2 separate regions of the Homo sapiens genome follow, and region 2 is linked to region 1. The links are contacts of gene promoters, found by promoter capture Hi-C in blood cells and fetal thymus (Javierre and others, 2016). All regions are on one chromosome and are shown on one strand. The core of a region is centred on a gene start or on the middle of the fragment in contact, and the rest is flanking DNA. Distances in the headings are between cores, read along the strand shown. Region 1 holds the start of USP34 (ubiquitin specific peptidase 34). Region 2 overlaps UGP2 (UDP-glucose pyrophosphorylase 2).

Region 1 (6,322 bases), core at 1,656-4,155:
CCCGGCCTGTTTAATCAAATTTTTTAAACAATGAAATCGCAAATGGGGTAAAAGTTTTCATTGTTAAAAAAATTACAAGATGGGTATTACTTTGTGCATCAAGACCATGTTTCAGGCAGAAAGGGTTAAATGGTATGTTAGCTGAATTTGTCCCTCATCGTATTAGGAATTCTTTTGGGAATTCTTCCCAAAGAACCCATCCTGCAGATTTCTGCTTACATTTCTTTTTTTTTCCAGAGAGGGTCTCACTCTGTCACCCAGGCTAGACTGCAGTGGTATGACCACAGCTCACTGCAGTCTCAATCTCCTGGGCTCTAGTGATCCTCCCACCTCAGCCTCCCCAGTAGCTGGGATTACAGGTGTGCACCACCACATTCCACTAATTTTCTTATGTACTGGAGATGGACTTTTGCCATGTTGCCCAGGTTGATGTAGAACTCCCAGGCTCAAGCAATCCATCTGCCTTGGACTCTCAAAGTACTATGATTATAGTCGTGAGCCACCACGACCAGGTAATTTTTTTTTTTTTTTTTTGAGACGGAGTCTTGCTGTGTCGCCCAGGCTGGAGTGCAGTGGCGCGATCTCAGCTCACTGCAAGCTTTGCTCCCTGGGTTCATGCCATTCTCCTGCCTCAGCCTCCCAAGTAGCTGGGACTACAGGCGCCCACCACCATGCCTGGCTAATTTTTTGTATTTTTAGTAGAGACGGGGTTTCACCGTGTTAGCCAGGATGGTCTCAATCTCCTGATTTAGTGATCTTCTCGCCTCGGCCTCCCAAAGCGCTGGGATTACAGGCATGAACCACCATGCCTGGCCTTTTTTTTTTTTTTTTTTTATGAGACGGAGTTTCACTCTTATCCCAGGCTGGAGTGCAATGGCGCGATCTCGGCTCACCGCAACCCCTGCCTCCCGGGTTCAAGCGATTCTCCTGCCTCAGCCTCCTGAGTAGCTGGGATTACAGGCATGCACCACCATGCCTAATTTTGTATTTTTAGCAGAGATGAGCTTTGTCCATGTTGGTCAGGCCGGTCTAGAGCTCCCGACCTCAGGTGATTTGCTCACCTCAGCCTCCCTAAGTGCGGGATTTCAGGAGTGAGCCAACGCGCCCAGCCACCTTTTAAATTTTTGTAGACACAGGGCTCCCACTATGTTTCTCAGGATTGTTGCTTACCTTTTATCAGGAGGAACTCAATTATGTATGGCCAGCCCTAGAAAAGCCAGATCACCATGATGGTTGGTTTCAACTGCTACCTGAAAAAACGTGAGACCAGCACGTTGGCTCATACCTGTAATCCTAACATTTTGGGCCGGAGGATCAGTTGAGGCCAGGAGTTTGAGACCAGCCTGGGTAACATAGCAAGACCCTGTCCCTACTAAAAATAAAAAACAATTAGTTACGTGTGGTGGAGAGCGCCTGTAGCCCCAGCTACTAGGGAAGTGGGAGGATCCCTTGAGCCCATAAAGTGGAGGCTGTAGTGAACTGTGATCGCACCACTGCACTCTAACCTTGGCGACAGAGTGAGACTTTGTCTCAAAAAAAAAAAATTCAAATAAAAATAATTGGGGTTGTGTTGGCAGGGAAAAAAGGGATACGTGGGAATGTATGTTGAGTGGACAACGAATGTCTGCCTCAGGATCCAAAGTAAGTCTGCAAAAACCCAATTCTGTGAGAAAGACAAGGAAGAAGGGAAGATGATGGTAGAATAGAACTACAATCCTAAGGATCACCTGCTAGTGGGAAACAAAACGGGTTGGGCAGACTGTTTATAGTATCAACTTCAAGCAGCAGAAAGGCAAAGCATTTGGAACCAGGTGGTTCTGGCATGGAGAGATGGGCGTGCCATAACCTCCACAAAAGCTATCGAGAGAATGACTACAGAGCCTTGACAGACACTCTGGTTACCGTTCAGAGATTCTGTACACGATCTTTCGGACTTTGCAGTCACATGTCTATGTAAACACGTTGAACACAAAAATTAGCAAGCAAGGGGTAAGTGCCGGCGTGAGGAAAATTCCCTTACAAGCTTCAGCTGACTGCCCCCTTCACCTGTTCTTTATCTTAATATCCTTGTTATTCGCTCTCTGCTGAAGAAGATTTCTTGCTATTTCAGGTGGGGCTGATGGGCACATCGTGAGGGGCCCTCTTCCGTAAAAACGAGACGATGTCAGGCAAACACTCCTTACCCTGCCATTTCTAGTTACGTCAAGGATCTTACTGCTCCAGGACGGAGGACCTTCAAGGAACTGCAGGGTAGCGATAATCACCGATGCAGTTAAGCCGGGCCCTGGGCTGATTCACTCTCAGACCCCGGGGGGAGTGGCCCTTGCGCCCGAAAGAGGGCTACGGCGTAGACCCGGCCCGGCACCCAAGTTGACTCCTTGCTTCCCGTACCCCAAAAGCCTAAGCGCGGAAGAGGCCGGGGACACCAAAGAAACCCGCACCAACTCCCCGACCCAGGCCCTGGGGAAAAATGGCGAAGCCCAGGGGCGGGGGACAGGACGGAGCGAGTGACCTGGCGCTCCCCGGGCCTCAGAGCCCGTGGAGTGGGTCGTGGTGGGCGACGCCACGCAACCGCGACCCGTCCGTTGCCTCCGCCATCTTCTCCTACTCACCCGGACTCCCCCCGCGGCCGCGCTGGCTTCGCGTTTCCCTTCCGGCCGCTGACAGAGATCCGGGCTGGGCGGGGTGGGCGAGCGCGCGGAGGGGGTGGACCGAGGGCGGGGAGGCCGGACGGAAGAGGAAAGGGAGGGCGGCGAGCCGGCCACGGCGGGGTGTGGAGCGTGCGGCGTGTGTGCGGAGGGAGAGGTGGGGGGCGGAGGAGAGGCGAGAAAGGGAGGGAGGCGGAGGAATGAGAGCGCGAGGCGCCTCTCGTCCGCTCCTAAGCCCGGGCGGAAAGAGCCGAGCGCAGCCCGAGCGCTCTGTTAAAATGGCGGCGGCGTCGGCGGTGGCCGCGGCGTCTGGTCGGTGAAGTGACTCTGCTGCTTCTCTCCCCACCCGCCCCCTCCCCCCCTCTCCCCTCCCCCCGTCCTTCCCCCCCTTCCCCGCCGCCGGCGCCTCGGCGCCCCTCCGGCCTGCGCACCTCCCCTCGCTCCCCTCCTCTCCCCCTCCCGCTGCGGGGACCGCCGGCCCCCTCCCCCATTCTCTTGCTCCCCGCCCCGTCCCCGCCGCCGCCCGCCCTAGTCGCCTCCCCGCCCCGCCGGCCGGCCGGCCCCCTCCTCCGCCTCTCTCCCCTCCCCCCCGCCGGTCGGGATCAGTCAGTGTGATCCGAAGCGGGGGAGGGGGGGGGCGGCGGCCGAACGATGTGCGAGAACTGCGCAGACCTGGTGGAGGTGTTAAATGAAAGTAAGTAGCCGCGGTAGCGGCCTGTCGGGGTGCACGGTTTGGGGTCCTCGCGCAGCTCTCTGGCCTCCCCGGGCTGCCGCGGCCTGCGGGAGGCGACGGCCGGGCCGGGCGGCGTGCGGGCCTAGCGCCCCGGGAAGGTGCGCGGTGGCGCGGCCGCCGCGGCGCCTCGGGCCCAGCCCGGCCGGGTTACCTGGGCGCCCGAGAGGCGGCCGCCGCGGAGCTCCGGCTCGGCCTGGCCCGGGCGCTCTGGGCTCTCGGAAAGTTTCCTCATTACAGGTGTCAATTAATGAAGGCAGTAATGAACCCCTCGCCGCCTTCGCCTCCTTCGCCCTGCCGGGAAGGTGCGGGGAGGTGGGGTCGGAGGACGAGGCTTTCCTCCGCAGTCCAAATCCTCCGGCCGCCCTCTTTGATTTCCAGCGTGCTGCCGAGGCCTCTCTTACCTGCTAATTTTCATTAAACTCCCGGGAGCAGGGTGGTGGTTTTTCCCTCCCTTGCGGGTTTGTGGGTGTCTTAAACACTTCAGCCAGACCTTAAATAGCTGAAAACGAACTGTGATAGTGATGATTGGAACCTTCATACCTATTTTTAAAATAAATTTGTTAATGATGTTTCTTAGTGTAGCATTCACCGCTTTAATGGTACATTCTGTTAAGCAGAGCACTGTACTACACATACCATCCCGGGATAGTTATGGCCTATCTCTCTTGGAAGGAAAGGCCTTTTACCTGGTACTTTACTTTTTATTATTAAAAAGGGTACGTTGATCTTTTCTGGCCTTTTTATTTTATTCTCGACCCTTGCAAGATGGTATTTCAGCTTATAGAAGATATATTGCAAATCAACTACTTCTGGGCGTAAAGGCCTAGTTGGCAGAGGTGAATTAGATGAAGGGATCAATTTACAAAAAGTTGATTGTTGAAAAAATGCTCACTTATGAACAGTTTATGTGGGTTTTGGATTTGTATTCTGTTTGTGATATTTCCACAGACTTTCAGACTATCTAATTTTGTAATACAATTCGCTAAAACAGTTGATTTATAAAATGTACCATGGTATTTGTGTTTGACTGTCACTTTAATGACCAAAGACAATAATAAAAGTGGAAGGGTTCTAACTTAATTTCAACTCCGTATTTACTTCCTGATAGGTGGAATAGGCTTTTGCACATATTCCAACTAGAGGTTCCAGTATTTGTGTCACCCTAAATTATCCTAGAATTTTAAGATTATTTGTGTGTATTTTGAGATACTTTTATTTCTGGCGCAGGCGGTTTACGATATGATAAACTTAAATCCTCAATACTTACTGTGTTTTATATCTCACATACAAGTCGTGTGATTATGATTGTTACGCTCAACTTGGAAAGTTAATCGTTTTGCAATGTAATATGAGGAACAAGTACTTAATTTTGTTGGTGATTTTAAATATCTTTTTTTTTTCTTGAGACAGAGTTTTGCTCTTGTTGCCCAAGCTGGAGGGCAATGGCATGATCTCGGCTCACTGCAAACTCTGCCTCCCAGGTTCAAGCGATTCTCCTGCCTCAGCCTCCCAAGTAGCTGGAAATGTAGGTTCCCCACACCATGCCCGGCTGATTTTTGTATTTTTGGTAGAGACGGGGTTTCACCATGTTGGTCAGGCTGGTCTTGAGCTCCTGACCTTGTGATCCGCCTGCCTCGGCCTCCCAAAGTGCTGGGATTACAGGCGTGAGCCACTGCGCCTGGCTGATTTTAAAATATCTTAAACTTGGAAAATTTTAAACAAAACATCTAAAGAAAGTAAAGTTGGTTTATCTTTTGAAAAGAGGTGGCATCTTGATCATAATGAAAGGTCTTATTTAAGATTATCTGGGAAACCCCTAGAACTTTGGTTAGAAGCACTGAAAAATGCAGTGCATTTATGGAGTGTTAGAAATGTGGAGAATTGAAATAGAATTTAGCTTTTATTACCTTTAAGCAAATACAGTTAGTTCAACCAGCTTCTCAAAATCTGGTCATGTGCACCCTCTAAGAAACCTGTTCTAATGAACAAGTAAGGATTTTCTATTTGTGTGTAAGCCAGTGGACTCTAAAAATACTTAGTTTCTTAATATTGCCTTTGAGGCTCAATTTAAAAGTTTAACTCTTAAACAATAATCTCACAGTGATGCTTCCTTTTTAAAAAAATTTACGGCCAGGCGCAGTGGCTCACGCCTGTAATCCCAACACTTTGCGAGGCCAAGGTTGGCGGATCACCTGAGGTTGGGAGTTCAAGACCAGCCTGACTAACATGGAGAAACCCCGTCTCTACTCAAAATACAAAATTAGCTGAGCGTGGTGGCACATGCTTGTAATCCCAGCTACTGGGGAGGCTGACCAGGAGAATTGCTTGAACCCGGAGGCGGAGGTTGCAGTGAGCCGAGATTGTGCCATTGCACTCCAGCCTGGGCAACAAGAGCGAAACTTTGTCTCAAAAAACATTTTTTTTACTTCAACAATTACATGTGTAGTTTATACCACACTATTAAAAGTTGTTTTTTTTTCTGTAGTTCTTTGCTTATCCGTGGCTATGATGGAGCATGATAATGAACATGAGTGGTTGGAGCTTGATAAAACTTGTTGAAGTAGATTATATGTGTTTCTTGTGATCTCATTTGCAGTAATTACCTATAAAGTCTGCCCTTTTCCCGCCTGTACCTTGTACAAAGATGAGCATCAGTTCAACGTTGATTTAGAAATTCAGAGTTGGCCGGGCAACTCTGAATACAGCTCACGCCTGTATTCCCAACACTTTGGGAGGCCGAGGTGGGCGGATCACAAGGTCAGGAGCTCGAGACCAGCCTGGCCAATATGGTGAAACCCCATCTCTACTAAAAATTCACCAATTAGCCGGGTGTGGTGGTGTAGGCATCTGTAGTCCCAGCTACTTGGGAGGCTGAGGCAGGAGAATTGCTTGAACCCTGGTAGGCGGAGGTTGCAGTGAGCCGAGATCATGCCACTGCACT
Region 2 (6,322 bases), core at 3,753-6,252, 2.4 Mb before region 1:
AGCTTCATAAAGCCAACTTTCAAAGAACTTGTTATTAATAGAAGGACACGTGCCTGGCAGTGGAATTTTAAATATCTAAGAATTGGCTGGGCGCAGTGGCTCACACCTGTAATCCCAGCACTTTGGGAGGCCAAGACAGGCGGATCACATGGTCAGGAGTTCAAGACCAGCCTGGCCAACATGGTGAAACCCTGTCTCTACTAAAAATACAAAAATTAGCTGGGCATGGTGGCGTGCACCTATAATTCCAGCTACTCAGGAGGCTGAGGTAGGAGAATCACTTGAACCTGGGAGGCGGAGGTTGTGGTGAGCCAAGATCGCACCACTGCATTCCAGCCTGGGCAACAGAGCAAGACTCCGTCTCAATGAATAAATAAATAAATATCTAAGAAGTATGGTTTCAGTTAATAGTCATTGTGCCTGGGACAATCCATTCAATTACCAAGACCAAGATGGCCACAATTTCAAACACTATTACTCCAAGTTCAAAATATGATATTTAGAAAAGAAATTGTAGGCTATGTCAAAACGGCAACAGTCTTTAGAAAAACTCTGTCTTCTAAAGAGATTCTATCCAACCAAAAAGGTAGTAACTGAATCATATTTTCTCATCCATTAAACCCCAAGCCAGAGAACTTGCCCTACTAATTTATTCATATTGCTGGAATTTTCTCCAACAGTATAAATGCTGGATATCAGGATGAATGGCATTACAGAAAGTTAACACACTCTTCTTCATTTTCACAGATAATCCAGGTTGACTTTCAAATATCTGTTTATGTTAACTTTTCAGTAATTAATATTGCTAACTTTCTGAGAACTCATAATGCCTATGTCAGGCCTCTGAGCCCAAGCCAAGCCATTGCATCCCCTGTGACTTGCACGTATACGCCCAGATGGCCTAAAGCAACTGAAGAATCACAAAAGAAGTGAATATGCCCTGCCCCACCTTAACTGATGACATTCCACCACAAAAGAAGTGTAAATGGCCGGTCCTTGCCTTAACTGATGACATTACCTTGTGAAAGTCCTTTTCCTGGCTCATCCTGGCTCAAAACCACCCCAACTGAGCACCTTGTGACCCCCACTCCTGCCCGCCAGAGAACAAACCCCCTTTGACTGTAATTTTCCTTTACCTACCCAAATCCTATAAAATGGCCCCACCCTTATCTCCCTTCACTGACTCTCTTTTCGGACTCAGCCCACCTGCACCCAGGTGAAATAGCCATGTTGCTCACACAAAGCCTATTTGGTGGTCTCTTCACACGGACGAGCATGAAAGCCTATACTTCTGCAAAAAGCTTGGTGGGAACTAGGAAACTACAGTATATTTCTTTTATTTGAAACACTTTCATTATTAGGCCAACTGATGTTCCTCACACAATCTAAGTATCCCATTATTTTAATTAAACTTGCTATAATTCATCTATGAAGGGAAAAATAATACATACCAACAAAGGGAAGGGTCTCTGTGAAACATATTACAAGAAAATACCTATGGACTAAAATAACACCTGAATTTCCTTTTAAGGTCATTTTTCAATTTATTCAGAATATTAAAATGGCACTCCCAAAAAGAGTACCAGTTAATATTTCTAATTTCTCTAATGTCCCTTATCAATTTTTTTTCCTCAGTAGACTTTCACAAATGAAAATCATCCATCTTATTAGAAGAAAGGCTGAGTTAGCAAGAACACGGACAATTTAACCACAGAGATTACAAGGTCCATGTTGGAAAACAGCACTTTTCATCAGCTCAACTCTTCATTTTAAATTTCTTTAGAATTTTTTTTTACATTTATAACTGTGACTGAATTTAACTAAACCCTTCTCTTCAAATAATATAATAAATCTTAAATCAGATCTTTAAAAAATGAGGGGTATGCCCTAGTCATTATTTTCATGGCTCTTGTCCTCACTCAAATCCATGCCACTATCCCTGTGCTAAAAGTGTCCTCATCATCTAAATAATCAGCAACAGGCTAAATTTGGTTTTAGGATTTGAGAAGAACCAGGCCCCAGAATGCTTCTCATCTCTGTATTCCTCGGAGACCCCTCCAGTTATAATTAGCTCAGTAATCTTCCCTGGCTAGCTGCCATCTATCAAATAGGAGTCACCAAAAAAGTTATGAAAAGAATTTTAACAAATGGGAAAGCTGATAGGCCTCAAGCATTTTTTAAGTGACAGAGGTACTTAAATGACTTTCCCTGAAATGTAAGTATGTACCTCAATTTAAGAACATCAGGGACATTTTTACATAATTTAGATAGATAATGGCACATTTAGAATCATTTTTTTTAAAAAAACAATGCCTCTAATATTAGAGCATTAGCATCCATTATAGCCTTAGCTGGCTAGACAACATTACTCTCTTCACTATTTATTAAGTTTCAAAACATTTAGAGTGATTACCCCATAACTCTCAGAACTTTTTAAAAGCAAAATTCCAAATGGCACCCACTGACAAACCTGACAAAAACCCACAGCTGCTGATGACCCCCGCCCCTGGTACCTTAAACTATGACAGGGAGCCCCCTTTCTCACTCAGCTAGGGAAGAGATGGTACTCACATCCATTTAGAATAACTGGGGGCCCTGGAACAATCCCTGGAGCAAGGAAGAGCAGAAGGAATGTCACAAGTAGGCAGAAGGTGACCCAACAGCAGAATAGCTAGGAATTATGCTGCAGATCCAGTAAAGAAAGGTCTTCCTAAGAGAAGGAATGTTAAGTGCCTGAGGGACAGAGACTTGGGGATGTGACCAAAGAAACGTGAACCTTTTTTTTTGACCAAGAAATATATACTAAGAACTCTCCTGCCTACCTCAATATTTTTATTAATTGAACATTTCCACCTAATAGTTTACGGTCAATATGCTTGAGGATGGAGATACCCAGCTTTCCTCTAAGGCACAATGCCTAGGATTTGGAGAAGGAGATACAAGCCAAGTATAGCAACCATCCTACTACATTCAAAACAGGTGTACACAACACTTAGGTGTAATGCCCAGATCTGCTGAACTTCAGTGCCTACCATAAGGGATATGCCAGAAATCCTAATACAGTACATCATACATAGTAAGAGCTCAAAAAAAATTTTGTTCACTGTATTCAGAAGAAAACCGTCACCAACTTGTACTCAAGTTGAGAGGTTATAAAAACTACAACCAAATTCATATTGTCCAAACGTTACCTTGCCCCACCCCGGCACTTTTTTTTTTTTTTTTTAACATAATAACACCTAGGCCTGAACATGAAACCTGGAATAGGAAAATAAAGAACTTTCATACCTGCCTTTTTTCTTTTAGTTCTGTTGATGACATGTGGTTATATTTTGGGTGGCAATGCTATCTGAAAGGCCACCATCATTTCAGGAAAGAAAAGTAAAATTGACTGGCTACCTAATATGTGCCTAGCACATCCACATAGTTCATCTCATTTCAGCCTCTCAATAACCCTGAGGCATAAGCATTACTGCCCAATTTTTATCTAAGAAGAAACTGAGGTTTGAAAGGTATGTGCCTAAGATCACCTGCTAGTAACGGTATTCAAATCTAAGTCTGTACCTTTCCATCTTTCTCAACATTTATATAATCTAAGAGGTGTTATAAAAACTACAACCAAAAATGTAAGATAAGCTACTAAATAGTAGATGGAAAATGCTAAGCTGTGGGCTTCTCATTTGTCATCCATGACAAATTCATTTAGAGTATCGTCCACTTACAAAACACTGTATTTCTCCCAAGGATATAATATTATCTTTGCCCAATGGGAACTGACAGTCTAGCTGGAGAAACAGGCCATTTCCACAGTTGTTAATGTTAGAAGCAACAAAAGATGTCGGGAAGGACTAGGGTTTTAGACACACTCATGTAAGAATTTCAGTGCTGTGCACTAGCAGCTCACACCTGTAATCCCAGTACTCTGGGAGGCTGAGGCTAGAAGATCGCTTAAGACCAGGAGTTTGAGACCAGCCTGAGAAACATAGGGAAAGCCTGTCTCTTTAAAAAAGGAGAAAAGTAGCCAGGCATGGTGGTGTGCACCTGTAGTCCCAGCTACTCAGGGGGCTGAGGTGGGAAAATTGCTTAAGCCAAGGAGATCAAGGCTGCAGTGAGCTGTGATCGCACCACTGCACTCCAGCCTGGCAACAAAGTGAGACCCTGCCTCAAAATCAATCTATCAATCAATCAGTGCTTTATACAAGCTGTGAACTTTGGACAAGATACTTAACTTTCCTCACCTGTAAGGGCAGGATAAAAAATCTACATCTCAGGACTCTTATAAAGCTTGAGAAAACCCATGAAAAAAAAAAGTTAGAAACCTAACATTTGTTAACTCTTTCCCCTATGAAGGAGCATGAACTACTAAGTGCCAGTGATTGGAAATATCAATATTTTCTGCAGCAAAGATCAAAGAATTTGATTTGCTTAAAAAAATAATCAAAACCAAAATTTCCAACCCTTACACTTGAAAGCTCTTTTGTGGAGACAGCTGTGTCATTTGCCAATTAGGTTTATCATTTACAACAGCAGCAGAGTTAAACATATAGAGGGCTCACACTGTACAAAATTTAAACAATGATAAACAGGAGCACATTCATGTCAAAAAATTTTGAGGAGGTGTCATATTCTTGTGCAAAACTGCCCATCTTAAAAGGAAAACTACCATTTAAAGTAAAAATGTATGACAACTATAGGCTATGGCATATGCCTAAGTCCCATCTACTCAGGAGGCTAACGCAGGAGGACAGCTTGAGCCCAGGGGCTTGAGGCTGTAGTGCACTATGATTGTTCCTGTGAATACCCACTGTACTCCAGCGTGGACAACACAGTAAGACCTTGACAAAAAAAGAAGAAAGAAAAAGAAAAAAGAAAAAAAGTGGCTGGCAACTAAGTGCAATCTGGTATCTTAGAGTGAATCATGGGAACTGTAATCTGAACAAAGCCTTTAGTTAACAGTAATGTACCTATGTTAATTTCTTAGTTTTGACAAATGTGCAACTTTTCTATAAATCCTGAAGTATTCCAAAATATAAAAAGTTTTTTTAAAAAAAGTGGATGACAAAGTAATGACAAACATACACAGCAACTCTTACCACTTGATTTTGAATCTTCTGAGGACAAGTTGGCATTACAGCAAAGGCTGTGAAATCAGTCAATGCTTGCCAATTCTGCAACCTATTCTAAAGCATAACTCTACATGGAACACCTTGGGTTTATTAATATTTCTAACTTTTAAAGAGAAGTAACTTGTCCACTTTTACCTAGCATATTCTTGCAAAATACCGCCTTTATGGTAACTGAATATTGTTATTACAAAACCAGTACGTTTCTAACAGTTCTGCCTTTCTATTCTTGAATAAGACATTTACTCAATCAGAACATAAGCATCTCTTACCACATATAAGGTATAACATGAATTTGAAAGTCTAATAACAAGTGACATTTCTGAGCTTAGCGCTAAAGGCAAGCATAGCGTTCGATCTGTTTCGATAATAACACAGGCAGTCGAATTCTCTTACTTTAATCTACTACACAAAATTTAAAGAAGAGTTAATAAAGCGATGTAGAACTCAGTAGGGCATTTTTATTCCCAGGGTCAAATGATGGCCATTACTGACACAACTTTTTTTTTCCAAAAGTACACCTACATTTATCAGGAAGCATAATAAGTGTTTGTGAACTTTACTAGCTGTGTGTTCATCAAGATGGCTGAAGCTTTCACACACTGGAGTCTACAAGGAAAGAGTTTACTTGCATACCAGAAGGCAAATCTCATGCTACAAACTGGTGTCAAAGGTTTATGCCAGCACCAATTTCAGTGAGTACACCGTACACACATGCATTCATATACACGTTACTGATAATCTCAGTTGAGGCATTCCCTAACCCTTTTTAAATACACATGTGGAATTTAGAGAGCAGTTTTCAAACTTCAAAGGAACCTTAATCATCTTTTCATAGTTCAAAAAAGGAAAAAATAAACACAGCAATGCAGCAAAGTCATTTCTCCAGCTGAAATGACCTCCAGCTTCTTCGGGCTACTCCCAGTTTCGCAATAAGTGAATCTGAGACGCAAACCACGTACACACAAACGAAGTAGAAGCGGAGAACACTAAAGCTTCCCCAACAGTCCCGGCAAAACCCACCCGGCTTTTCTCAGTCCTCCCGCTTCCCCAGCCCTTCCCGTCTGCGTGCACGCACAGGTACCTTGACACAGACCAGGAAAAGAGAACAAGGATTAATTAGCAGCCAAAAATCCTGTTTTATCACTTACAGCCACTATCCAGGAAAGCGACGGTACTACTAACCTGATTTCAGGGAG

Evidence for each region. Contacts are between HindIII fragments. The CHiCAGO score rates a contact against its expected background, and 5 or more counts as called.
Region 2: a contact is called between a fragment that was not itself captured here and the fragment with the promoter of USP34 in region 1, in 1 of 17 cell types (fetal thymus). The highest score is 5.5, in fetal thymus.

What each region holds. Positions count from the first base shown.
Region 1 is chr2:61,467,670-61,473,991 of GRCh38, reverse strand. It overlaps USP34 (ubiquitin specific peptidase 34), which reads left to right and starts at 2,905. Exons shown (of 80, transcript NM_014709.4): 1 at 2,905-3,342. The coding sequence starts at 3,300. USP34-DT (USP34 divergent transcript) reads right to left here and starts at 2,896. Exons shown (of 3, transcript NR_185882.1): 1 at 2,613-2,896. RefSeq lists silencers at 2,654-2,963, 2,994-3,073, 3,164-3,583. The HindIII fragment of the contact is 6,929 bases long and covers 2,026-6,322 here.
Region 2 is chr2:63,842,424-63,848,745 of GRCh38, reverse strand. All of the region lies in intron 1 of UGP2 (UDP-glucose pyrophosphorylase 2), which reads right to left. Among named protein-coding and RNA genes, the nearest start is that of UGP2, 3.7 kb to the right of the region's middle. RefSeq lists an enhancer at 660-1,440. The HindIII fragment of the contact is 1,431 bases long and covers 4,287-5,717 here.